Regions from separate parts of the Homo sapiens genome. Here all the other regions are linked to region 1. Evidence: promoter capture Hi-C in 16 types of primary human blood cells and fetal thymus (Javierre and others, 2016). All regions are on one chromosome and are shown on one strand. Each heading gives the region's core, a stretch centred on a gene start or on the middle of the fragment in contact. The rest is flanking DNA. Distances are from core to core; before and after follow the strand shown. Region 1 holds the start of EDN1 (endothelin 1). Region 2 has its middle 93 kb from the start of TMEM170B. Region 3 has its middle 110 kb from the start of ADTRP. Region 4 overlaps PHACTR1 (phosphatase and actin regulator 1). Region 5 has its middle 92 kb from the start of ADTRP. Region 6 overlaps LOC340184 (a long non-coding RNA gene). Region 7 overlaps ADTRP (androgen dependent TFPI regulating protein).

Region 1 (3,182 bases), core at 413-2,912:
GTTGAAAATCCGGCTGGCTTCTACAAGGAACTTGGTAGGACAGCACTATCCACTGAAGCTTACTTAACATTGGCACATGACTAAAGACAAGAAATCACAGTTATTCCTAGCTTTGGGGCCACTTCCCCATTCAGGATGACCCTCTCTTTAGGGGGTACCCATCCACTTCACATGCTGTGTAGGGCACAGGGTACCCCAGATGATGTATATCTTTCAAAATTAGGTGGGGAAAATGATTGGAGAGAGAAATTAACTATTCAATATTCAATTCAGGAGGGTAACTCCATAGAAACCAGTGACCTAAGGTGGGGCTGAGAAGCAGGTCAGGGGACTGAAGGTAGGCTGGGGGGATTTTGAATTCCGAATCCCTGGGCATCAGGCTTGTGTGGGATCCACTGCCTCCCCCTTCTCCACTACTGCCTTGCCTCTTCCTCCTAACAATTTAGCCATGCAGCTTATCTGCCCAATTTTGTACATTTCAAATGATCAGACACATTCCAGGATTTTCATTCCCTTGACATCCTTTCTCTTTAGTCAGGGTCACGAAAAGACAAAAAAAGTGCACTGACCCTAAAAACGGGGGGGACCCGGGCAGATGCACACGCACTGCCTAAATCCTTCGGCAGCCAAGAATTATCCTAGCTCCCCTCCCAGCACAGGTGAATAAAGCTGAAAAGAGAGCTCACACTGTTTTGGGTGCCAAAAACCTGCCAAAAGAAACCTAAAGTCAATGATGACAAATTTTAAAGAAAACATCTGCTTCACCCAGAAACCGCCTGCGGGGGGTGGTGGCGGGGGGGGGGGGAGGCGGTAGTTAGTCAACAGACTTTTGCTCTGCAGGTGATTTTACTGAACATACATTGCTTGAACGACTGGATACAATTCCTTGGCTTCAAGCTGGAATGCTTAAATATTTTACACGTTAACACACTATTAAAATAGTGTTTAAATAAGATTTAAGTTCCTATATGGCCTGTGTACCTGTATAAACACATATATTACAAACATACATTTGACTAAATTGTATATGTCCATACTCTTCTCATTTTTTAAAAGCCAAGGAAACACATAATGGAATAATAATAATAAAACGATAAGTTATTTTAATGTCATGTTATAGTCAATTGCACCTAATTGTATTCAATAGAGGAATTTTACATTTTACACTAGAAGACTTAAAGTAGCTTTCAGCAATAATTCTCAGACACTTGCTCTCTAAGCTGCAGTCATAAAAAGAACGGGGAAAAATAGAAGCAAGAAAAGCATGAAGGTGGATAAGAACACACTAACTTGTAATTCCGAGACTTACAAGTCAACGAGCGTGCCTACCTGTTTCTGGAGCTCCTTGGCAAGCCACAAACAGCAGAGAGAAAATCATGAGCAAATAATCCATTCTGAAAAAAAGGGATCAAAAACCTCCCGTTCAAACTGAACCCAAAGGAAAACGAAGAAAAACAGCTTCAGGTCCCTCAAAGCGCTGCGGGTTCCTCAGATCTCAAAGCGATCCTTCAGCCCAAGTGCCCTTTTAACGGGGAGAAAAGGCAGCGCCTGCCAGGAGAGAAGGCAGCGAGCGGAGCGTCTGCAGGCGCACGCGGCGGTGGAGAGCTGGGACTGCAGGAGGCGCAGGACCCGTTCGCCTGGCGCAGATGCAGAGGCGCGTCTGACTTGGACAGCTCTCTGCCGGCTTTTTATATTGAACCCCTATTAGAGTGGGGGTAAACAGCTCCGACTTTATTCCAGCCCCAGACAATGTTATTGTGTTATTAGTCACCAACAGGCAACGTGCAGCCGGAGATAAGGCCAGGCCCGAAAGGAAATCACTGCTAACTTCAGAGGCAGACGCCCGCCGTCTGACAATTCGGGGGCAGGGCTAAGAAAAAGAAAATACCCATTAGAGACCTTTGCTAAACCTGCCCGTGCAGTGCTGGAGTCCGCTTCCCCTTTGCAAGCTGCCAGCCCCGGAGTTCAAGAATCAGAAGAGGGGACTCCAGAAAAAAAGTCATACCATTGGTATGAAAAGTATGAGCCACAGTTTAAATAGATTGTATTGTTGTGTGCGGGGAATTTTTTTTAATTGTTGCTCGCTTCATTTTCCTTTTATGTCTCTCCGATTCTAGTCTCAGTCAAACAAGGGAATGCTCTCCCTCGTCACTGCCCCACTACTGGGGGTCAGACTATTTTGGCAGATCAACGTACTTTTCTCTTCAAGCCCCTTCCTGCGGGTCTTTTTTGCTGAAGTTCTTTGCATCTATCGGAGAAAGATCCGTGAGGGATTGGCAAGAAAGGGAGCTTAAAAATAACATCAGAGCTCGTTTAGGCACATGCCCAGTCTTTTCCCTATCACTGATGAGAAGCCCCGATAAGTTCTTTTGTGTGTCCACACTTCCCCTGCGGAGGAGGCTGATAAACTGATTGAAAAGCAAAGGTGTTTTTCACACAGAACTTAAATCTTAAGATTGGTCGGTGCCACCAATCTTAAGACATGGCGGGAGAAGAACACCAGGGGGAGATGAAGAGCTACAGGGGCTGATGTTTTACTAGGACAAAAAGGAAAACCCTTCTAAATGGCAGAAAAAAACGCAACCTGGCTTGGGGGCCGAGGAGGGTCAAGGAATGTTGCCTAACATAGGAAGGAGGAATGCACCTCAGAATATTCTATTTATTCCCCGCACAAGCAGGGACATATTTTCTGGGACTCTTTTTTTTGGGGGGGTGTCTTCATTTAGGGCAAAAAGGTGTTCTTGTACAAGGTTAAGTGAATATGCAAGGAAGGTGGTGCTGAGAAGGAAATGCCATTCGAACAAGGAATCAGATAATACTTCACATTTAATAATGTGTTTACATTTTCAAAACAATTTCCTGTCTATCTAACCTTGAAATCCCCCCCTGAAGTACACACAGGGCAGTTACTGTACAGGTGACATCATGCCTTAATAAAGAAAGCAAAAGGTGCATGGAACACATTGGCTTTTTCCGCTAGTCCCATTTTTCAGGTTAGACAACTGAGCACCCAGAATTTTTGTTTGTTCTCCACCAAAGCGCTCACAGTGGCCCAGTAAGACCTATGGGATAAATTTAGAGTCTCTTCCCAGGGGATGCCATCAAATACACACTTTGTCCATCTCCTCTTTTTGTTTTACTCCAGTTTTTCTGGGGATGGAGGGTGGAATTCAAGCACGGAT
Region 2 (3,182 bases), core at 477-2,976, 660 kb after region 1:
AACACAGAAGTTAGCCTTAAACTATTAAAATTCTTCCCAGCCTCCATGTTTATAAGCACCTATTTGAATTGTATGTGGAGGGGGGGTGGGAAGAGAGAGAAGGAAAGAGAGAGAGGAAGGAGTAGAGGGGAGAGAAAGAGAGAGATGGAGAGGGTTAAGCAAATAGTTTTAGGGCCTACTGTTCAGCAGCCACCCTGGGGAGCCCTGGTCTTGGGCACAGAGAGGATAAAAATTAAGTACCTCCGAGGAGCTCATGGACGAGCACGGGGAATGAACATTAAAGCAGGGGCTGTCATTCTAATGAGCCAGGTCTGAAGAGACCAGTAGGGTCAGGATGTCTGGGACCACAGGGACAGGATAATCCACCCTTAGCTTGAGGTTTCAAAGCGGTTTTCCCAGAGAGACTTCACTCATGTTAAAAGATATATTTTTGGCCTTTTTTCTGATCATTTAGTGGCAAAGATTTCCCCAACCTGGCTTTCTTCTGTCAACACTCCGTACAGCAGCTGTCTGTTCATGCCTCTGTAGTATGAAAGCACCTCAAAATCGGCCATGGAGGGCTGAATGCCTCTCCGGCCTGGCCCAGAGAGCTTTTCTAGTCCAGAGGTGTAGACGCCATGGGGAGAAAAAGGCTCTGTGTTGGGGACCAGAGGTACAGGGAGGAGAAAAGGCAAATGCTTGCTGCATCTCGGGAAATTTTTGCCAACAATGTTGTCCCAGATGCAGAGATGACAATGTCATCCCGGGTGGAACCTGGACTTTTAGACACTCTGGGGGACCCTCTTTAAGAAAAAGAAATAAAAAGGATTCCTCTTACAAACTGTCAGACACAGGACTTATGTAGACATTGGCGGGTTCTTCGCAGCAAGCAGGCCACCGCAAGTGAGGGGCCCTCAGGCTTCAGCTTCATGTGGCCTTCATGGCAAATCCACCTCTGCTCAGTGGCCAAGAAATGGTCTTTCTCTGGAGGAAACAACTGGGAGCCAGCCCGCCCTGTGTAACTTAATTATCTGTGAACTTCACAGGCAGAATGGCAGCTGTCACTGACAGGGCCCAGCCAAGCGTCCCCTGCGTGTTCCCATGGGTCTCCAGGAAGATGTAATTTTATTTTCAGAGCACAGACTTTCTTCAGCATTTCAGTTTGGCATCCAAAATTTTCACAGGAAAGCAAATGACAGCACCCGTCAGAAAACAAAATAGCCTTCCCATTACATGTTTATTGCTGTTCTAATGAGCCAAGGGCACAGGATACTACTTTTTAAACAACATAACAAAAATATTTGCCCTCAATAAAGCTTGTGTTCTCCTTCTTTAGAGGTTAAAAATGTCAGAGATTTGAACATCTCACATTAAAATCAGCAATGTATTTATTGTTTTTGTTCCCACCTAACACAGAGTGTTGCTAAAGATTAGGAAAAAAGAGTCAGATGAGCAGGTGGAAGTTGATCATATTTTTCATCATCATTGTTACTAGGGTGACTGTGGCTGTTCTAATACTACTAACCGTAAGAGTAAGCAGTTCTCCATAAGACTTGACAAGTGAAATGAAAATTGCAGCAAGTACCAACCTAAGCAGACTTTAGGAAACAAAACATACTCGAAATGGTAACCCTGAAGAGTTTTTCCCTCCCATATTTATCCCTTTCTCCACACCTGTGTTCCTCAGGGAAGCAACCCTCCACGAGACACAATTCTGACTGGTGATGTGTAGGCAGACGTCACTGGGGAAGAGGCCTAAAGCCAAAGGGCAGAGCTTTGTTAGGAGAAAGCTCTTCACTCTGTAGCCCTCTTACTTCTTCCCATTCTCCCTACTGGATAGCCTGGGGGTATAGCAGTCACACTAAAAAACAGATAGGCAAGTAGGAAGGAAAGCCCTCTGTGCTGAGCAATGGGAAGACGACCTTGAGCAATAGGAGGGTGCCATGTTTGGGTCACACACCAGCCCTGCCCTGGCCTCCTCTGATGATTATTTTCTGAGATAAGCATACCTTTATTTCTTTAAGCCACCATCAGAAATATCAAGAGTTCTGATACTTGTTGCCAAATACATTTCTAACTAATGCAAGAGAAAGAAAGAACCTGGTCCCCTCCAATTCCATCATAAATATATTCGCAAATTATGGGACGAGCGAAAGCGTTCTATGTTCTCTAAGCTTCAGTTTTCCCCTGGGTAAAATAAGTAACTGTTCTTGACCTGCTTCTTTATGGAGTTGCTCTGAGGATGAAATGATATATGCGAGGACACTCTGAAAACTGTCAATTGTATATGATTATCAGTAGTGGGCGCCATGCTAGGAGCCCAGTCTTTGTGCCCATCTCTGCTTGGGTGTTAGGATTAGCCACTAAATAGAGATCTAGTTTCAAAAGTCTTCTTACAAAAGGCTTCTCTGGCATAGAGGTGCCCCAGAGATAAAGGGCCAGCTAACACAGAAAGCCAAGTACAGAAACTCAGAAGAAATATTAGAGTGAGGGTTAGAGTGCCCCCCCATTAACAGTGTCAGAGGAACCACAGAACTGGTGGATGATGAGGAATTTTCTGGTACAACCCTGCATTCATTGCCTGAGGCTACCGCAACAAATGATCCCAAGTTGGGTGGTTTATTTTATTTATTTATTTATTTGTTGAGATGGAGTCTTGCTCTGTCGCCAGGCTGGAGTGCAGTGGCGCCATCTTGGCTCACTGCAACCTCTGTCTCCCAGGTTCAAGCGATTCTCCTGCCTCAGCCTCCTAAGTAGCTGGGACTACAGGCACATGCCACCACGCCTGGCTAATTTTTGTATTTTTAGTAGAGACAGGGTTTCACCACGTTGGCCAGTATGATCTTGATCTCTTAACTTCGTGATCCACCTGCCTTAGCCTCCCAAAGTGCTGAGATTACAGGTGTGAGCCACCATGCCCGACCTATTTTATTTTTTTCTTAAAGACCAGTGTAACAGTATTGGGTACTTCAAAGCAACAGAAACTCATTTCTTTCACAGTCCTGGAGGCCAGATATCTGAAATCAAGGTGGCAGCAGGGTTCATTGCTTCCAGGGGCTCACAGGGAGAATCTGTTCCTCGCCTCTCTCCTAGCTGCTGGTGGCTCCCGCCATCTTTGGCATTCCTTAGTAGCAGGTGTATCACTCCAAGCTCTGCCTCCATCCTCCCATGGCTTTCTCCTCCCAGTGTCTCTGTGTCTGCTC
Region 3 (3,182 bases), core at 348-2,847, 620 kb after region 1:
AAAATTTTTTTCTTGTATTGCATCCTGTTGCATTTTAATGATAGTGATTTTCTAACTTTCTGTAACTTTGCCAATTTTCTGTCTTGTTTCATCAATTACTGAGAGATAGATATTAAAATCTGCAATTACAAATGGGGATTTGTCTATTTCTCCTTGCTTATTTACTTTGAAACTTTGTTATTAGGTGCATTCAAGTTTAAGATTGTTATATTCTCTTGATAAAAATGACCACTTTTTCATTATAAAATGACTCTATCTCTTGTAATGTTTTTTGCTTTGAAATATACTTTATCTGACAGCAATATTGTCATCCCAGCTTTCTTTTAATTAGTGTTAGCATATTATATCTTTTTTCATGCTTTTATTTTTAAACTATTTGTATCATTATATTAAATGTAGATTTCTGTAGGCAGTATATAATTTGACCACTTCTGGTTTATAATGGAGGTACTTAGACATTTCATGTGATAATTGATAATTGATATGGTTAGGTTTAAAGCTACTATTTTGCTATTTGTTTTCTATCTGTTCTTTGTTACAGATTTCTTTTTCTGTGGCCCTTTGTATTAATTGAACGATTTTATTACTCCACTTCATCTCCTTCTAGCTCCTTAGCTAGATCTCTTTGTTTTGTTATTTTAGTGGTTACTCTAGCATTTACAGTATACAGTATACATCTCTAACTTATCACAGTCTACATTCTAGTAATGCTTATACCACTTCATCATTTATGATATTATATGTCCATGTTATTTCTCCCAGCCTTTGTGCTATGTTTACCATACATTTCACTTCAACATCTTTAAGTATGTTTTGTAGTATAGATCCAGTGGTGATGAATATTTTCACCTTTTTTATGTCTTCAAAGTCCTTCTTCATTTTTGTTTTTGAATTATATTTTCACCACAGAATGATAGATTGGCAGTTGGTTTTTTTTTCATTTTAGAATTTTAAAGATGTTTTTCTTCTTTTACTTAGATTGTTTCCAGTAGAAATTTTGCTGTCACTATTATTTTCATTCTTTTGTGTATATAGTACCTTTTTATCTGTTTTTAAGTGATTTTCTCTTTTTCACTAATTTTGAGCCATTTCTTATGTGCCTTTGTGTTTCTTGTACTTAGGATTTGCTGAGTTTCTTGGATATTTGGGTTTATGGTTTTCATCATATCTGGGAAATCTTCAGCCATTGTTTCTTTAGTTTTCTCTTTTTCCTTTCTTTCTCTTCTGTTTTAGAGACTCCAATTATATCTACATTACATTCTTTCAAATTATCCAATATATCAATGATGTTCTGTTCATTGAATTTTTAGTCTTTTGTTATCTCTGAATTTCACTTGGGTACTTTCTATTGTTATGCTGTTCAACTCACTAATCTTTTCTTCTGCAATGTCTAATCTGCCATTAATCCCATACAATGTATTCTTCATCTGAGGCAGTTTAGTTTTCTTTTTTAGAAGTTAAATATGAGTCACTGTTAATATTTTGTACAACTTAACATGTTGAATCTCTACTCTAGCTTTTTTTTAATAAATGGAAGGCACTTGTAGTAACTGTTTCAATGTCCTCGTTCCCTGATTCTGACATCTTGTGAGTTCTGATTTGCTTATGAGTTTTGATTGATTAATTTTTCTCAATATTGTTCATATTTCCCAATTTTTTATATGCCTGATAATTTCTTATTTGATGTCACACATTGTCAATTTTACCATATTAGGTAGTGGATTTTAAAAAATTCATATATATATAAAATTGAGATTTGTTCTGGGAGATAAATTATTTCAAAATAATTAATAGTTTAATTATTTTGAAATAGTTCAATTCTTTCAGGGCTTGCTTTTAAGATTTGTTAGGGAGTACTGGAGTGGCATTTAGTCTAGTGATAATTTCCCCTGCCTAAGACCCTTCTAAGTATTCTATTCCATGACTCATTTTCCAGTCTGGCCAGGCACAGACACTATTCCCAGCTTTGTGTGAGCTCTGACTCTGACTACCCTCTCTTCCTTTCAGGTGTTTTTCTCTGGTCTCAGGTAGTTTTCTTTACCATATGTGCTGCTCAGAATGAGTACCTCTCTAGAAGTACTGAGGCTCAGTGCTCAGGACTCAAGAAGGACCCTATGTACATCTTCAGAGTTATCACTCCATGCAGCTCTCTCCTCTCTGATGCTGTACCCTGAAAACTCTAACTACTGTGAACTCTCTGGAGGCTCCACCTCCTCAACTCAGGGTGAGCAGCAGACTCCTTTTGGGTTCACCCTTGCTGCACTGCAGCCTAGAAATTCTCTCAAGGTGGTAAACTGGGGCATTTGTAAGGCTCACGTCATTTCCCATCCCCATCTCTTAAAAATAACCGCCCTTCATTGCCTAATGTCCAATATCTTGAAATCTGTTTCTTCATATAATTTTGTCCAATTTCTTAGTCATTCCAAGTAGGAGGGGAAATATGGTTCCCTATTACTCCATTTTGGTAGGAAGTGCACCTTTTTTCTGCCTATTCCTTTCCTTATCAGTTTCTTTCAACTTAAATAACAGAGTCGATATCTATTGTTTGCGAGTAAGAGGTCTGGCAGATACACATCTACCTCTCCCTTTCTTTAGATACTCAATTTATCTCCCAGTCCTGTCAGTTTTATTTTTTAAATAGCTTCTTAATTGCTGTAAGTTTATATATGTGTGTATGTATATGTAGAATGTGGTATGTGTGATTATTGTGTTCCAGGTACTTTTCTAAGCATTTTACTTCTATTAATTTAATCCTCTCAATAACCCTATGATATAGAAATCATTATTATACCTCATTTGTACAGATGAGGAAACAGGCATGGAGAAGTAAAGTAAGTTTTCAAGTCATAGGGTAAGTGATTGAAAACCAGCAGTATGAAGCAGATCCTATGGAAACATTGCTGCCTTTTTACAAATACTTCTACTCCCTTACATCTCCACTTAGGTCTCCATACCGCCACCCTAGTTCAAGCTAGCATCATCTCTTGCCTGAGCTACCATGTAATTGGTGTTGTGACTTCCAAATCATTTTCTTCATTACAGTTAGAGTAATCTTTCAAAACCCAAATCTGCTTGTGGGGGATCCATCAGAGGGGTGGGAAAAACTATAGGGAAAGGACGCAAACCTTCTGAAAGGTCAGAAGGTTCTGCAGAGCCCCAGGGGGAGAATAGCCGAAGGCAGC
Region 4 (3,182 bases), core at 374-2,873, 610 kb before region 1:
AAAGAAAAAGATAACATTTAAACATAAAAATGGAAGGTAACACTTACCTGAGCAATGAAAGAAAAAACAAGCAAAAGAGGTTTAAACATCAAGCAAAACGTCGAGTTAAAACGAAAACACACACACAAGAGTTAGGAATGATTAGTGAAAAGTAGATAAAGTAAAAATGAGGCAAAGAATAATTCATATACAAGTCAGGCACTGAACATGGACTTTAATATAAAAATTGATATGTATATATATTTTGAGACAGGGTCTCACTGTGTTGCCCAGGCTGGAGTACAATGGCACAATCTCTGCTCACTGCAGCCTCTACCTCCTGGGCTCAGGTAATCCTCCCCACTCAGCCGCCCAAGTAGCTGGGACTACAGGCACACACCAGTACGCCTGGCGTAGTGTATTTTTGTATTTTTTGTAGAGACAGGGTTTCGCCATGTTGTCCAGGCTGGCCTCAAACTCCTGGACTTAAGCAATCCACTCACCTCAGCTTCCCATGATAAAATATTAAAATAAGCCAAGACAATGCAAAAGAACAAACAATTTTAGAGACCAGAAAATGTAAAGCTTGAAAGCCTCTCAGCACAAGATGAGTGGGAGTTAAAGTAAGATGAAAGTAATAATAAATCACAAGATAAAGGTATCCGCTTCGAAAAAAAAAATGATGAGCTAAATGGAAGTTGTTTAAAAACAACAGAAAGAGGGGGAAGGAGGGATTCAGACAAGTTAAAAATAATAAAGTAAAAAATCTTAAGTTCAAGCAATTTAAGAGGCCAATCTTTAAGAGGAAGAACAAGTGGTTTGAAGAAGTGAAGCAAGGAGACCAGAAGGCGATACAGTGGGGTGAGGTATGTCAGAGATAGGGTTGCCAGATAAAATATTTGTTAAATATTTGCTAAATCTGGCCAATGTGCTTCAGGGAGGGTCCACTAGACAGAGGAGGTCCCCTAGCTTGGTTTTCTGGCTGCCAGGGCAGGGGCCACTGGTGGTGTAAGGGGGCAAGCTGTGTCCCCAGTGATGATGGCCCTCTTGTGACCACCATGGAGCCCATCCCTCTCAGTGGGATGGACACAGGGAGGCACCACACATCACAGACCCGGGCGTGCAGTCTCCTGCGCAGTGAGCTCATGCCATGCTGGAAAAAAGCAGTTTCTTGATCAATCGTAATGTCATACACTTTCCTCAACAATTCCTTCTCATTTAGAAAGACAGAGTTGATCTGAATGTGAAACCACACTGCAGGGCTTATCCTAAGCATAAAGATGTCCTTTGGGAGTCTTTTCAACGCTTAAGCTATTCTCAGTCAACCCAGAAGAGGGTGCAGGCAAACACACAGTGACTCCAGTACCTGGAAATTGCAGCTTGCCTCTCTTGTCACTGACTGTTTTATTACTTTAGTGTCTGATTTTTATGAATACTTGCAAGTAACTACAAGGCACACCCTTTTAATTATAGTTTTATTCATTCACTCAGACAAATTAAAGGAACCCTATTAGCTGGGCTATTTTAACAGTTTATGACATACAGATATGTCTGAAAATTACATTAACAGGTAAAAGGCTGATATATCATCTTTCTCTGGGGGTGCTGTTATTACTTTAATGCCTTTAAAATGATTATTTCCATCACTATTCCCCATAACAACCCTGCATTAGGAAAGTAAAACCTTGCTGCAATGAATATTTCTTGATCCCTTACTGTATGTCAGGCATGTGATAGGTGTGGGCAAATCATGAATAAGATTTGGCCCCTCCTGTAAGGAAGGTACAGCCCTATTAAAGTGGGGAAACCACAGACAAGCAGCAATTTCAGTCCAATGTAAGAAGTGATGTGAGGGAAGCACGCACAGGTGCTCTGGGAGAATGCAGGGAGGCCACTGTCACAGATACTGGGGACCAAAGGAGGCTTTACCAGGGAAGCTGCATATGAGGAAGCATAGGCCAGAAGTGGAGTGGGGTAGCTTTGCTGGTGGAAGCACATTTCAGACAGGCCCAGGGGAACAGCATGTGCAAAGGGCAAGGGGTGAGATACAGCGAGGCAAGTTGAAGGAACTGCAAGTACTGGGAACAGGGCTGCAGTGCGGTGCAGGGGAGCTGATCAACACATAGAAGGGTGGAAGGCAAGCGGGTAGATTACAGAGAACCTCACAGAGCATAAGCTAAGGAATTTGCATTCTGACATCGATGGGGAAGTCCCGGCAACAAGGACAGATTGCGGCCGACAGAGAGAGAAAGAGTGTTCTGCCTGCAGCACGAGACTGGATCCGAAAGAATGGAAGCAATGAGTCCTGCCAGGAGCTGGCCAAGGTGGTCCCAGTGCGAGTCAATGTCAGTAGCCTGGATTAAAAGTAGCAGCGGCCAAGATAAAAGGAGGCAGATATGTCTGAGACATTTAGGAAGTCGATTTGACAGGAGTTGGCCATTTGGTCATGAAGGAGGATTGCCAGGTTTCTGGTTTGGCAAATAGGCTCTTGGCATTGCTGCTGATGGAGACAGGAACTATAGAAGTGGGCTGAGGGCGAGTGGAGGCTGAGTCGGGGACATGTTGGGGTTGTGGGGTCTGTTGGACACATGGTTTTAGGATTGAGGAGGGCAAGCTCGAATGAAGTGGAGCTTTGAGAGTCATCAGCTCCCGTCGGTATTTGGAGACGAAGGAGTGGACGGATCCCTTGGGCAGGGAAGCTTTCCAGAGAAGAGAAAATGGTAGAGGGCAGGACCGTGTGTAAACATAAGGTTTAGGAGAACAAAAGGAAGGAGAAGTGGCAAAAATGGACAGAGAGATAGGAAAAAGAGAAACCCTAAGAGAATGAGGTGGCCTGAGGTGAAATAAAATGAGTGATTCAAGGAGACAGTGGTCCACAGTGCTAAATGCTGCCCCGGAAGTTCAGTAGAATAAAGATATCAGTTCATGTCCTTTGCAGGCACATGGATGAAGCTGGAAACCATTATTCTCAGCAAACTAACACAAGAACAGAAAACCAAATACCACATGTTCTCACTTATAAATGGGAGTTGAACAATGAGAACACATGGACACAAGGAGGGGAACATCACGCACCAGGGCCTGTTGGAGGGTGAGGGAATAGGGGAGGGAGCACATTAGGAGAAATACCTAATGTAGGTGATAGGTTGATGAGTGCAGCAAACCACCATGGCACATGTATACCTATGTAACAAAACTGCATG
Region 5 (3,182 bases), core at 239-2,738, 600 kb after region 1:
TAAGAATGTATGCGTTAAAGCTTAATAGATCTTTGAACCCATGTCTGTACATAAAAAAGTAGAAAGAGCAGTTTTTTAAAAAATGTCATATTCAAATATAGCTGAATGTATTTACATATTACACTATGCATACATATTGTATTTACCCTCTTCTATTCATGTGTACATCACATGTAAGAAGCAGCAATAAAGTTACTGGCAAACCTTTGTTTTCCAATCCTGGCCCAGCTTTCCTCCAGCTGTGTTACTTCAGAGACATAATTCAGCCTATCGTGCCTCAGCTTTCTCATGTTTAAAAATAAGAAGTTAGAAAATGTGATTTCTAAAGCCCTTCCAGCTTTAAAATTCAGTCATTCTTTGATATGCGAGATAATGGACAATTGTGAATATTAAGGCAACACAATCCTCCTCTCTCATCCTCAAGTGGGAGGGGGTTAGTTCATATTAATCACAGGCAACCATGGACTTGGTTGCATTTTGAGTCGCATTCAACTAAGAACATTGGCCCTTTCGACTGTTTTGGGATATTTGCCTGCTGTAGAACTACTTACCACAGCCATGTATCTAGCTACCTACAGACGTACGCACATACACACACACACACACACACACACACACACACACACACACAGAGAGAGAGAGAGAGAAAGAGAAGAAACAAAGACAGCAGAGTAACCAGGTTAACAAGAGTAGCCGAGTTAGCAGAGGATTGTAGGAGGAGAGAATAGAAGAAATACGACACCCTCACAGCTTTCACAAATTGGCACGATCCATATGCATTGCTGCTAATTACAATAATCATCTCCTTCTACAGCGAGAGCACTACTTGACCCTGTACCCACGTTTTATTTATTTATTTTCTAAAGCATTTCTCTTCTCCTTTATCTTCTCCCTTAGGCTATTAATTAACTGCAGTGAAGGATAACAGAGGCCCCCATCACAGGGTCCATTTGGCCTGTCCCTGATCCCTACTATCTTGAAACACTCCTCACACTTTGAAAACCAACAGCGCATTCCAGCATGACCCAGAAGATAGCCAGGTCTCTTCCTTTCTCTCAACCCCTCGCTTTCAATTTTTGTTGCAGAAGAATTATGAGCACGTTTGAAGCTAACCATATTATTTCCTTTATCATCATCCTGAAAAGTTCCCAAAGAAGCATTGGAAAGGCAAAATTCTATTCTAAGCTACACCCTCCTCTGTGGGCTTAGCTAGATGCAAATAGATTTAAGTGAGGCAGAACTATGACTGCCAAGCAAGGAGATGGATTCCATACACGATGTGGGAAAATTAATCTCACCTTATATAATCAGTGCCTAAAGCAAGGGACTCACACTTCCTTCCCTCTCCCCAAATCCCTGGGAGATTGTGAAAATGGATCAAGGAGCCGCGATGAAGTGTTTATATATTTTTAAATGTATGTTCCTCTCTCTTTCTTTTTCTTTCTTTCATCTCTTTCTCTCTTTAACACAGACCTCTGTTGATAAATAATGGACTGTGGCAAAAGAAAATTGACTAAGACTCTAGCCAACTTCAAATAAATTGGCTACTGGCACAGCTGAAAACATAACTTAGCTTAAATGAGGTTTCTTTCCCATTCTACAGAATCCCCCAGCAGCAAACACCATAAACCTAGAAGGTGCATCCTGACTTGTATTCTATAAATCCGTGAGCTAATAAATAATGCTCACAGTGTAAATGAGTGACTCCACAGAGACTACGTTAAAAAGAAACATTTCATAGGGAAACCAATAATATTTTCTTTTCAAGGGAAAATATATGTCCTCTCCTATATCCTTAATTACAGCCCAGACTCTAACCATGTCTTACAAGTGTACTAAATGAAAAAGTGGCTAAAACTTCATCCTAGTGCACTTTATTAGTGAGCCAGTTATTAAGCTATTCTCTCGGTATCAAACTCAAACTCATGCTTCTATACTTGGCTTTGTGATTCTGGGGCTGACTTTGCAAATCCCATTTCTGCTTTACCAGCTCCCTCCAAGTGTGTCTTTCCTTTTCTTTCCTTTTTTCTTTTTTTTTTGAGACAGAGTCTCACTGCACCCAGGCTGGAGTGCAGTGGTGCAATCTTGGCTCACTGCAACCTCTGCCTCCCAGGTCCAAGCGAATCTCCTGTACTCCCACCTCAGCCTCCTGAGTCGCTGGGATTACAGGCACCCACCAACAACCCTGGCTAATTTTTGTATTTTTAGTAGAGATGGTATTTTTGGTAGAGATGGAGTTTCACCATGTTGGCCAGGCTGGTCTCAAACTCCTGACCTCAAGTGATCCGCCCACCTCAGCCTCCCAAAGTGCTGGGATTACAGGCATGAGCCACTGTGCCTGGCCCCAGGTGTGCCTCCTCTAATAGTGGTGGGTGGAGGAAGACCAGATGGCTGGAGAAGAAGAAGGCACTCACTCTTCTTGTTTGCGTACCGTTGCTGTCATCATCGCCCAGCCTCACTCCTTTACTTTGGCAGGGATGGTTAGGGAAGTAGCAGAAGATTCCAGTTGTAGTTTTCCAATATTCATACCCCCTCAGAAACACTAGCAGGTGGCTATCCTTTCCTTGGGGGTCTAGAACCCAAATCAGTAGGACCAAACATCAACAATGGAATTGTGGGTTTGCTTTGGCTGGGTCCCTCATCTTGAATGCAGTGCTGAACTTCCTGCTAATGGCAAATGGAATTCCAGTAACCAGTGGCATGCAGTGACATCACAGTTTATAAAACTATTACCTGTGGTTGCTTTTCAAGTGCTTACTAAAGCAAGAGCCTTGGAAGAACCAAATGTCCTCTGCATTTGACTACTGCAGCAGCTACGATGACTACACGGGTGATAGTATGGAATGGCTCCCTCTGAATGCCCTAAAGCACTTGCATAAGGAAAAAAGAAAGAAAGAAAAAAAAAAGCCTGCTTCTTTAAGTTCTGAGCTTGAGTCATAGATAATTAAGAAGCTTCCAGGCCAGTCCTGAAAGAATATCATTTCTTTCTCTTGTTTGCTGAAAATAAGACACAAAAGTTAATTGCACAGATTTCAGAGTTGAAAGTTGAATTTGAATTTATAGACTCTCAAGTTTCTCAAGTGAAGGTTGGGTATCAACTAGAAAAGATAATGACCCTTAGACTCGAAAGAATGACATCAGGATGGATTCATAGCAAGCTCAGAATTCTGAACCCCTGAGTC
Region 6 (3,182 bases), core at 507-3,006, 590 kb after region 1:
GATGCTCAGATGGATTTAAGTAACACGCTCAGTGTCTGACAGTGGCATTGGAATTCAAATCAAGATCTATCTGACCCAAATGCCTCAAATAGTTTCCACTCCACCAACAGTGCTCAATCTTTCTTAAGTGATACCCTCAGAAATACATTTTACATCATAATCCAGTAGAAACACACACACTCATAACACACACACTTGTGTGAAAAGTTTCATAAACTCATACTTGCTTTTAATATGGGTGACATACCCCTTTATTTTCTAGGATATTGTTTCCTATTCCATTAAAATATGTCGTGACCATGAAATTGATGTCTTAATCCAATAATAGTGTTATTAAAAAATAATGAATTTCTTAATCCAATAAGAAATTAATGGATAGGGTTCAACTTAGTTCAGTAAGTTGGACAACACTGCACTCCACCACACTGTAGGGTTCGTTCATTCATTATACAGTGCCTACTAAATGTATGTCCCTGGCCATATGCATGCCATGGCCTGAGTGTAAGGACATGGTGGTCATCCACCTGGCATTTGCAGGCCTGTATGGAGGATTGCATGCTTTCATCTTGCCGCTCCTTTGGGACGCCAAGCCTGGCTTTCCCAGCTTCCTCTGTTAGCAGCTGCTCTGCTAGACTCAGCTCCTCTGAGATGCTAACAGGAAGAAGAAAAAGATCCCTTCCACCGTAAGAGCTTACAAAACCTTCCGCTGAGGCTTAAGTCTGGCCTGAGCAAATATATTTGGTTACACTTTAGGGATTTGTTTTCACTCAACACTAAATTTTATTAAGATTCTAATAATGAAGTTAGATGACATAGAGTTAGGAAAACATGTACTGTATGACTTTTACAATACCTTGCCAGGAATCTGGTACGTGATTCTGAAGACTCCCATCTAGACATGTTTTATTCCTTATTAAAATTTTTCTAGCTACATTCTAAAATGCACTTATGTTGTCATTTTATATATATACATTAACTGAACTTTGCCAATTTTTTTTTTTTTTTTTTGAGATGGAGTTTCACTCTTCTTGCCCAGGCTGGAGTGCAATGGCACAATCTCGGCTTACTGCAACCTCCGCCTCCTGGGTTCAAGTGATTCTCCTGCCTCAGCCTCCCGAGTCGCTGGGATTACAGGCGTGTGCCACCATGCCCAGCTAATTTTGTATTTTTAGTACAGATGGGGTTTCACCATGTTGGTCAGGCTGGTTTCGAGCTCCTGACCTCAGATGAATCCACCCACCCTGGCCTCCCAAAGTGCTGGGGTTACAGGCGTGAGGCACTGCACCCGGCAACTTTGCCAATTTTTAAAATCATGTGGTTAAATAAAATTCTCTTTCTTGCAAAATAGATTGCAGTATCACTGCCAGTATTTCTCCTTTTCCAGACTCATCCTGCCATCATGACCTTTTATTGCCGTCACATATCACCAAACTAAGAGGAAGAGGCCAAAAGAACTGCTGGACACCAATTCAGAGTTTTCCCACTCAGCAATGTGGATTTCCATGTAATCCTCAAATCAAGGGGAAGGAAAGAACCATTCCAAAATGCCCTGCCAATTCACAGAGGAACATATCTAAGTCCACTTGGGAACCATTTTAGACCCCAAGCATGGAAGACACGGATTATTTGCATGACTATATACACAATGACAAAGGGAAACTTACCCATTCATTCTAGGGCTTAACGAAAATGCCGCGGCTGCATGAATCGTGGTTCTGTGGTCGCTTATTGGGAATGGGATTGAAAGTATAACTTTAAGGGGGATCCCCAAGATGACAGCCAAGAAGATGCTAAGCTATTTGTGCATGAGGTGCTTGTGAGATAGAGATCAAAGGATAACCAGCTGCTCTTCCCTGGTTGGTGAGTGGAGGTGCCCGAGAGGGCACTCTTTGGTGTTGACTTATTGCATCTCACCTTGTCCCTTCCTAAACTCAACTCTTGCCATTTCACTGTATCCCTCACACAGTCACACTTGAAAGGCCCTCCAAGCACCAGTGGCCTTTGTTCCTAGCACAGAAATCATCGCCCTAGACTGCTTACCTAGCATCTAAATAATCCCAATTCACATTTAGCTAAAATTTCACTATTACTAAATTTAGTTATATTTGCAATATAAATTTATTTTAGTTACAATAACGTAGAAGTAGTATAGTTACTATTATTATCTGTTTTAGTTTCCTGGAGCTACTATAGCCAAGTATCACAAACCAGGTGGCTTAAAAATGATAGAAATGTGGCCGGGCATGGTGGCTCCTGCCTGTAATCCCAGCACTTTGGGAGGCTAAGGTGGGTGGCTCACGAGGTCAGGAGTTCGAGACCAGCCTGGACAACACAGTGAAACCCCTTGTACCGTCTCTACTAAAACTACAAAAATTAGCTGGGCATGGTGGCGGGCGCCTGTAATCCCAGCTACTCGGGAGGCTGAGGCAGGAGAATCGCTTGAACCTGGGCAGTAGGGATTGAAAATTGCAGTGAGCCAAGATCGTGCCACTAGACTCCAGCCTGGGTGACAGAACTAGACTGTGTCAATAAATAAATAAATAAATAAATAAATAAATAAAATAGAAATGTATCCTCTCACAGTTCTGCTAGCCAGCAGTCTGAAATCAAGGTGTCAGGATTACTATGCTTCCTCTGAAGCCTCTGAGGAAGAATCTTTCATCCTGGTGGCTCCCACTAATCCTTGGTTTGTGGCCACATCACTCCAATATCTGCCTGTTTCCACATGGCATTCTTCCCTGTGTGTCTCTGCACCTCTTACCTTACAGAGAATCTGGAATCTGTATTCAAATCTCCCTGTCCTTTCTCTTATAAGGATGCTAGTCACAGATTTAGAGTCTACTGTAAGTCTAGTATCATTTATTTCAGGATCCTAAACTAATCACATCTGTAAAGACCATATTTCCAAATACGGTCACATTCGGAGGTTTTAGGTGGACGTGCGTATTGGGGGTGAAAGGGGTGAGACCATATTCAACCCAATACATTATTCCTATTTGACAAATGAGGGGATTGAGATGTTAAATTCCAGCTTTTAACACTTCTCACGTGTCTTTCCTGGTTCAAGGAGTCACCCGTAATTTATACCATCTGTTGAGTGCCCACTACAGGACAGGCATTTGCAATTCATTATCTCTAGGCCTCACCATGCTCAGAGAGACAGGCATCATTCTCTCAATATT
Region 7 (3,182 bases), core at 151-2,650, 570 kb after region 1:
TGCCTGGCCCTATGTTCTCTTATATTTTTTCACCAATGTTGAATTTAAGTGGATTAGGTAAAACAGCCCAGCCCAGCCCATCAAACAGCATGTCTTATTGAATCAAGTTGATTTACCCAGAAAAGCCTCACTTCTTTAGGTTTGTGGGAATACTACAGCTGTTGACAAACGTCCCTGATGGGTTCTCTTCCCCTGCCTGGGTACCAGTACCTCATTAATCCTGATGAGAAAATGGCTTGTTTTTCTCCTCCTGCTATAACCACCACGACTTCTTATTTCCTGCAGCATCCTATGGCTCTACTTTGAGACGGGTACCTGGGTGTATCCTGTGTTTGCCAAACTCAGCCTCTTGGGTCTAGCAGCTTTCTTCTCTCTCAGCTACGTCTTCATCGCCAGCATCTACCTACTTGGAGAGAAGCTCAACCACTGGAAATGGGGTCAGTGTATTTCTTTCTTAGCTACAGATGCGCTTCTTCCGTGTCTGCCTCTCCCCTTCACCTGGAAACAGAAAGAAAAACTAGCCGCAAACAGAAGCAATGATGCTTACTGTCTTTGTCCAAAGTACTCAGACAGGTCCTGCCAAGAGGTCCTGCCAAGGCAAGAGGACAGCGTTGGGGGTGGGGCACTCTTTTAAAGGACCCCATCAAAGGATCTCCCCTCCTCCCCCAAACAATGTGTCATTTAACTTTAGAGCTAAAAATAATCTTCTTTAGAAAGCCCAGGACCTAGAGAACAAGGTATTACCATCCCTAGCATGAATAAATAAAATCAGGGGTCTCCCCCTAACCCAAGTGAGGGCTCCAGGGACACAAGCTTTGAAAATATCAAGGTTTCATTTTGAGGGAAGTGAGTCCAGATAGCCCTCTCAGCTCCTCCCACCTCCTCCCAACTCAGCAGTACCTCATTAGGCTGCTCCTCAGCCTTCCATAAGACATTTACCAGATGAAATCACATCCTAGACTTGAGATTGAAATCCTCATTCAGACAGAGTCTTCAGCAATGAGAATATGTCAGTAAGTTAAGCTTTCTCGTTATAGGTGGGTACAATCCTGTTGCTTCTTCCTAAGAAAAAAAAATCATCTTAACTTAGTTAATTTTAAAATGGAAGATTTCATTCTCCTTCCTGCTTCCTCTCTCCCCACCCCACCCCAGAATATTTTTTTATTGTTGGAAAAGTAACTACCAGAAAGTCAGGCTGTAAAACACCCATGACTTGCTTCCCTACCCCAGGAGAAGCGCAGGAACTCTACCCTGATTCTGTATATAAGGATGGCAAAGAGTCACACCCAGTCCCCCACATCACTCGCCCACATGCCATTCTGTTCTATCAAAATAGAGATGGCAGAAGTGCCATCTTCCGCCCAATCTATGAACTGGTGTGAAAACATAAGCCCGTGTATGCAAAAAAAACCTGACAGTTTCAGAAGGTTCAGTACCAGAGTGTGCGTTTCTGAGAGGAAGCTGAGACCCTGGAGAAATAAGCACGCAACTTGGATGTATCACATGTTTTCTACTCTTGGAGAATTTGACTGGTTTAAGAAACTCTCAAGGGCAAAATTCTCTTTGAAAGCAAACACTTAAAAAAATGGAATACTAAAAATTACTTCCCAATCAGGATTCCAAATCACAGAAAATTATCGCAAAAAAAAAAATGTGTTGACATTTCAGATGTGTTGACATATAATTCTAACTAGTTTTGGCTCCTTGAAGTTCTGGGTAAAGATTTCTGATGCCTCCCCAAATCTCTCTCTCTCTATATATATTTAAAGAAGCTTTAAGATATAGGAAGTACAGAGAAAAACTTGATTACTTAGAGCTTAGAGAACAATAACTTTTAAAATCAATTGTATTGAGTTCAATAATGTATTGAGTTAATTTTTAAATTGTTACTCTATGGTGAATTTTAAACATCCATTGAATTAAAAAACAAAATTATCATCATATTTATTATTATTGAAATTACTATTCTCAATACAACGTTCTTAACAAGCCTCATTGTTTAAGTACTGCATCCAATTTTTAACTATAATTAGGTCTCAATAAACAGATAAGCTGGCATCATATGGACCCTCAACTACCTCATGTACATGCAAGTTTTCAAGTAGAAAGAGACGATTGTAAATGACTGTACTTACCTCTCGAGGTCTTTCTAGATTTTTAACTTTTTAAAGAAGAGAAAGGGTAAAAGGTCCTATTTAACATCAGAATAAGATCAGAAATGTATTAAATCTTGAACAGATCTTTATTAATTATAAATAATTTAATACGAATTAAAGAAAAATTAGATTTGTTAAAGTTGCAATGCAGTGAACACTTTTACATTGCTGAAAGCTAAATAACCTATGTGAACACATTTCCCCATGTCCTATTCTACTGAAAACACTTTCTAAGGCTTCCCCCAATTGACTGAAGAAAGTCCACACCCTTGGAATGACACACAAGGGCCTCTGTGACCCAGTCCCTGCTTTGGCTTTTGCTCTTCTATATGTGTGCCCCAGTGGCACCAAACTGCTGGTTTTCCCTCCACGTTGATGTTGTTTCTTACGTCCACGGGATTCTGTGTCTCCTCCAGTCTTTGCCTGGTTCATACTCATGCATTTCAACACTCGCCTCTTCCAGGAAGCCTTCCCTGGTCAGCCCAGGTTGGACTTCATGCCCTTCCCAGTGCTTCCCCCTTTACCTCCCAGTCACCAGACTTACCATTTTATCATGACTGCGGTTTTACTACTGCTTTAGGGATTTGTTTTTCCACTAGACCTCGGGTGTCTTACGAATTAGGGGTATGTCTTGTTCATCTCAAGATCCACTATTTCCATTAGCTTTCTCGTTGCCTCAATCAGTGCAGACAATAGAATATCCAAGGGCCTTTTTTCCTAGGTGTAAAGTACAACTTTTTGCAAAGGTGTTCTGGAGACAGCAGATAAGGAGTGACTCTAATGGCTGTAGAGTATTGGGCAGGGAGTTTAAGGAGTATAGGAGGGTGATGACAAGGCGTACCAGTTAGAGAGTTGTTGAAGACATGCATGTTAGGGCAGAAAGTATTAAACAGGGGAAAGAGCACTGGAATAGGAATCAAGAAAGCCACGGTAGATCGAGACCATCCTGGCTAACACAGTGAAACCCCGTCTCTACTAAAAATACAAAAAATTAGCCGGGTGTGGTGGCGGGCGCCTGTAGTCCCA

The links. Contacts are between HindIII fragments. The CHiCAGO score rates a contact against its expected background, and 5 or more counts as called.
Region 2: a fragment that was not itself captured here is called in contact with the fragment with the promoter of EDN1 in region 1 in 13 of 17 cell types (M0 macrophages, M1 macrophages, activated CD4 T cells and 10 more); the score reaches 15.3 in M0 macrophages.
Region 3: a fragment that was not itself captured here is called in contact with the fragment with the promoter of EDN1 in region 1 in 15 of 17 cell types (activated CD4 T cells, total CD8 T cells, naive CD4 T cells and 12 more); the score reaches 13.1 in activated CD4 T cells.
Region 4: a contact is called between a fragment that was not itself captured here and the fragment with the promoter of EDN1 in region 1, in 1 of 17 cell types (M2 macrophages). The highest score is 5.2, in M2 macrophages.
Region 5: a fragment that was not itself captured here is called in contact with the fragment with the promoter of EDN1 in region 1 in 15 of 17 cell types (naive B cells, total B cells, megakaryocytes and 12 more); the score reaches 16.6 in naive B cells.
Region 6: a contact is called between a fragment that was not itself captured here and the fragment with the promoter of EDN1 in region 1, in 4 of 17 cell types (naive B cells, megakaryocytes, naive CD8 T cells and 1 more). The highest score is 7.8, in naive B cells.
Region 7: a fragment that was not itself captured here is called in contact with the fragment with the promoter of EDN1 in region 1 in 6 of 17 cell types (naive B cells, M2 macrophages, total CD8 T cells and 3 more); the score reaches 9.5 in naive B cells.

The regions. Positions count from the first base shown.
Region 1 is chr6:12,288,841-12,292,022 of GRCh38, reverse strand. EDN1 (endothelin 1) reads right to left here and starts at 1,662. Exons shown (of 5, transcript NM_001955.5): 1 at 1,330-1,662. The coding sequence starts at 1,393. RefSeq lists enhancers at 1,730-1,799, 1,810-1,909, 3,053-3,182. The HindIII fragment of the contact is 4,555 bases long and covers 61-3,182 here.
Region 2 is chr6:11,629,046-11,632,227 of GRCh38, reverse strand. No RefSeq gene overlaps it. Among named protein-coding and RNA genes, the nearest start is that of TMEM170B, 93 kb to the right of the region's middle. The HindIII fragment of the contact is 858 bases long and covers 1,298-2,155 here.
Region 3 is chr6:11,669,113-11,672,294 of GRCh38, reverse strand. No RefSeq gene overlaps it. Among named protein-coding and RNA genes, the nearest start is that of ADTRP, 110 kb to the left of the region's middle. The HindIII fragment of the contact is 4,847 bases long and covers 1-3,182 here.
Region 4 is chr6:12,897,762-12,900,943 of GRCh38, reverse strand. The region is part of intron 4 of PHACTR1 (phosphatase and actin regulator 1); the gene reads right to left. Among named protein-coding and RNA genes, the nearest start is that of PHACTR1, 180 kb to the right of the region's middle. The HindIII fragment of the contact is 2,114 bases long and covers 567-2,680 here.
Region 5 is chr6:11,685,551-11,688,732 of GRCh38, reverse strand. No RefSeq gene overlaps it. Among named protein-coding and RNA genes, the nearest start is that of ADTRP, 92 kb to the left of the region's middle. The HindIII fragment of the contact is 2,932 bases long and covers 23-2,954 here.
Region 6 is chr6:11,703,844-11,707,025 of GRCh38, reverse strand. The region is part of intron 2 of LOC340184 (a long non-coding RNA gene); the gene reads right to left. Among named protein-coding and RNA genes, the nearest start is that of ADTRP, 73 kb to the left of the region's middle. The HindIII fragment of the contact is 4,209 bases long and covers 1-3,182 here.
Region 7 is chr6:11,720,604-11,723,785 of GRCh38, reverse strand. It overlaps ADTRP (androgen dependent TFPI regulating protein), which reads left to right. Exons shown (of 6, transcript NM_032744.4): 5 at 286-437. Among named protein-coding and RNA genes, the nearest start is that of ADTRP, 57 kb to the left of the region's middle. RefSeq lists an enhancer at 373-1,572. The HindIII fragment of the contact is 749 bases long and covers 1,026-1,774 here.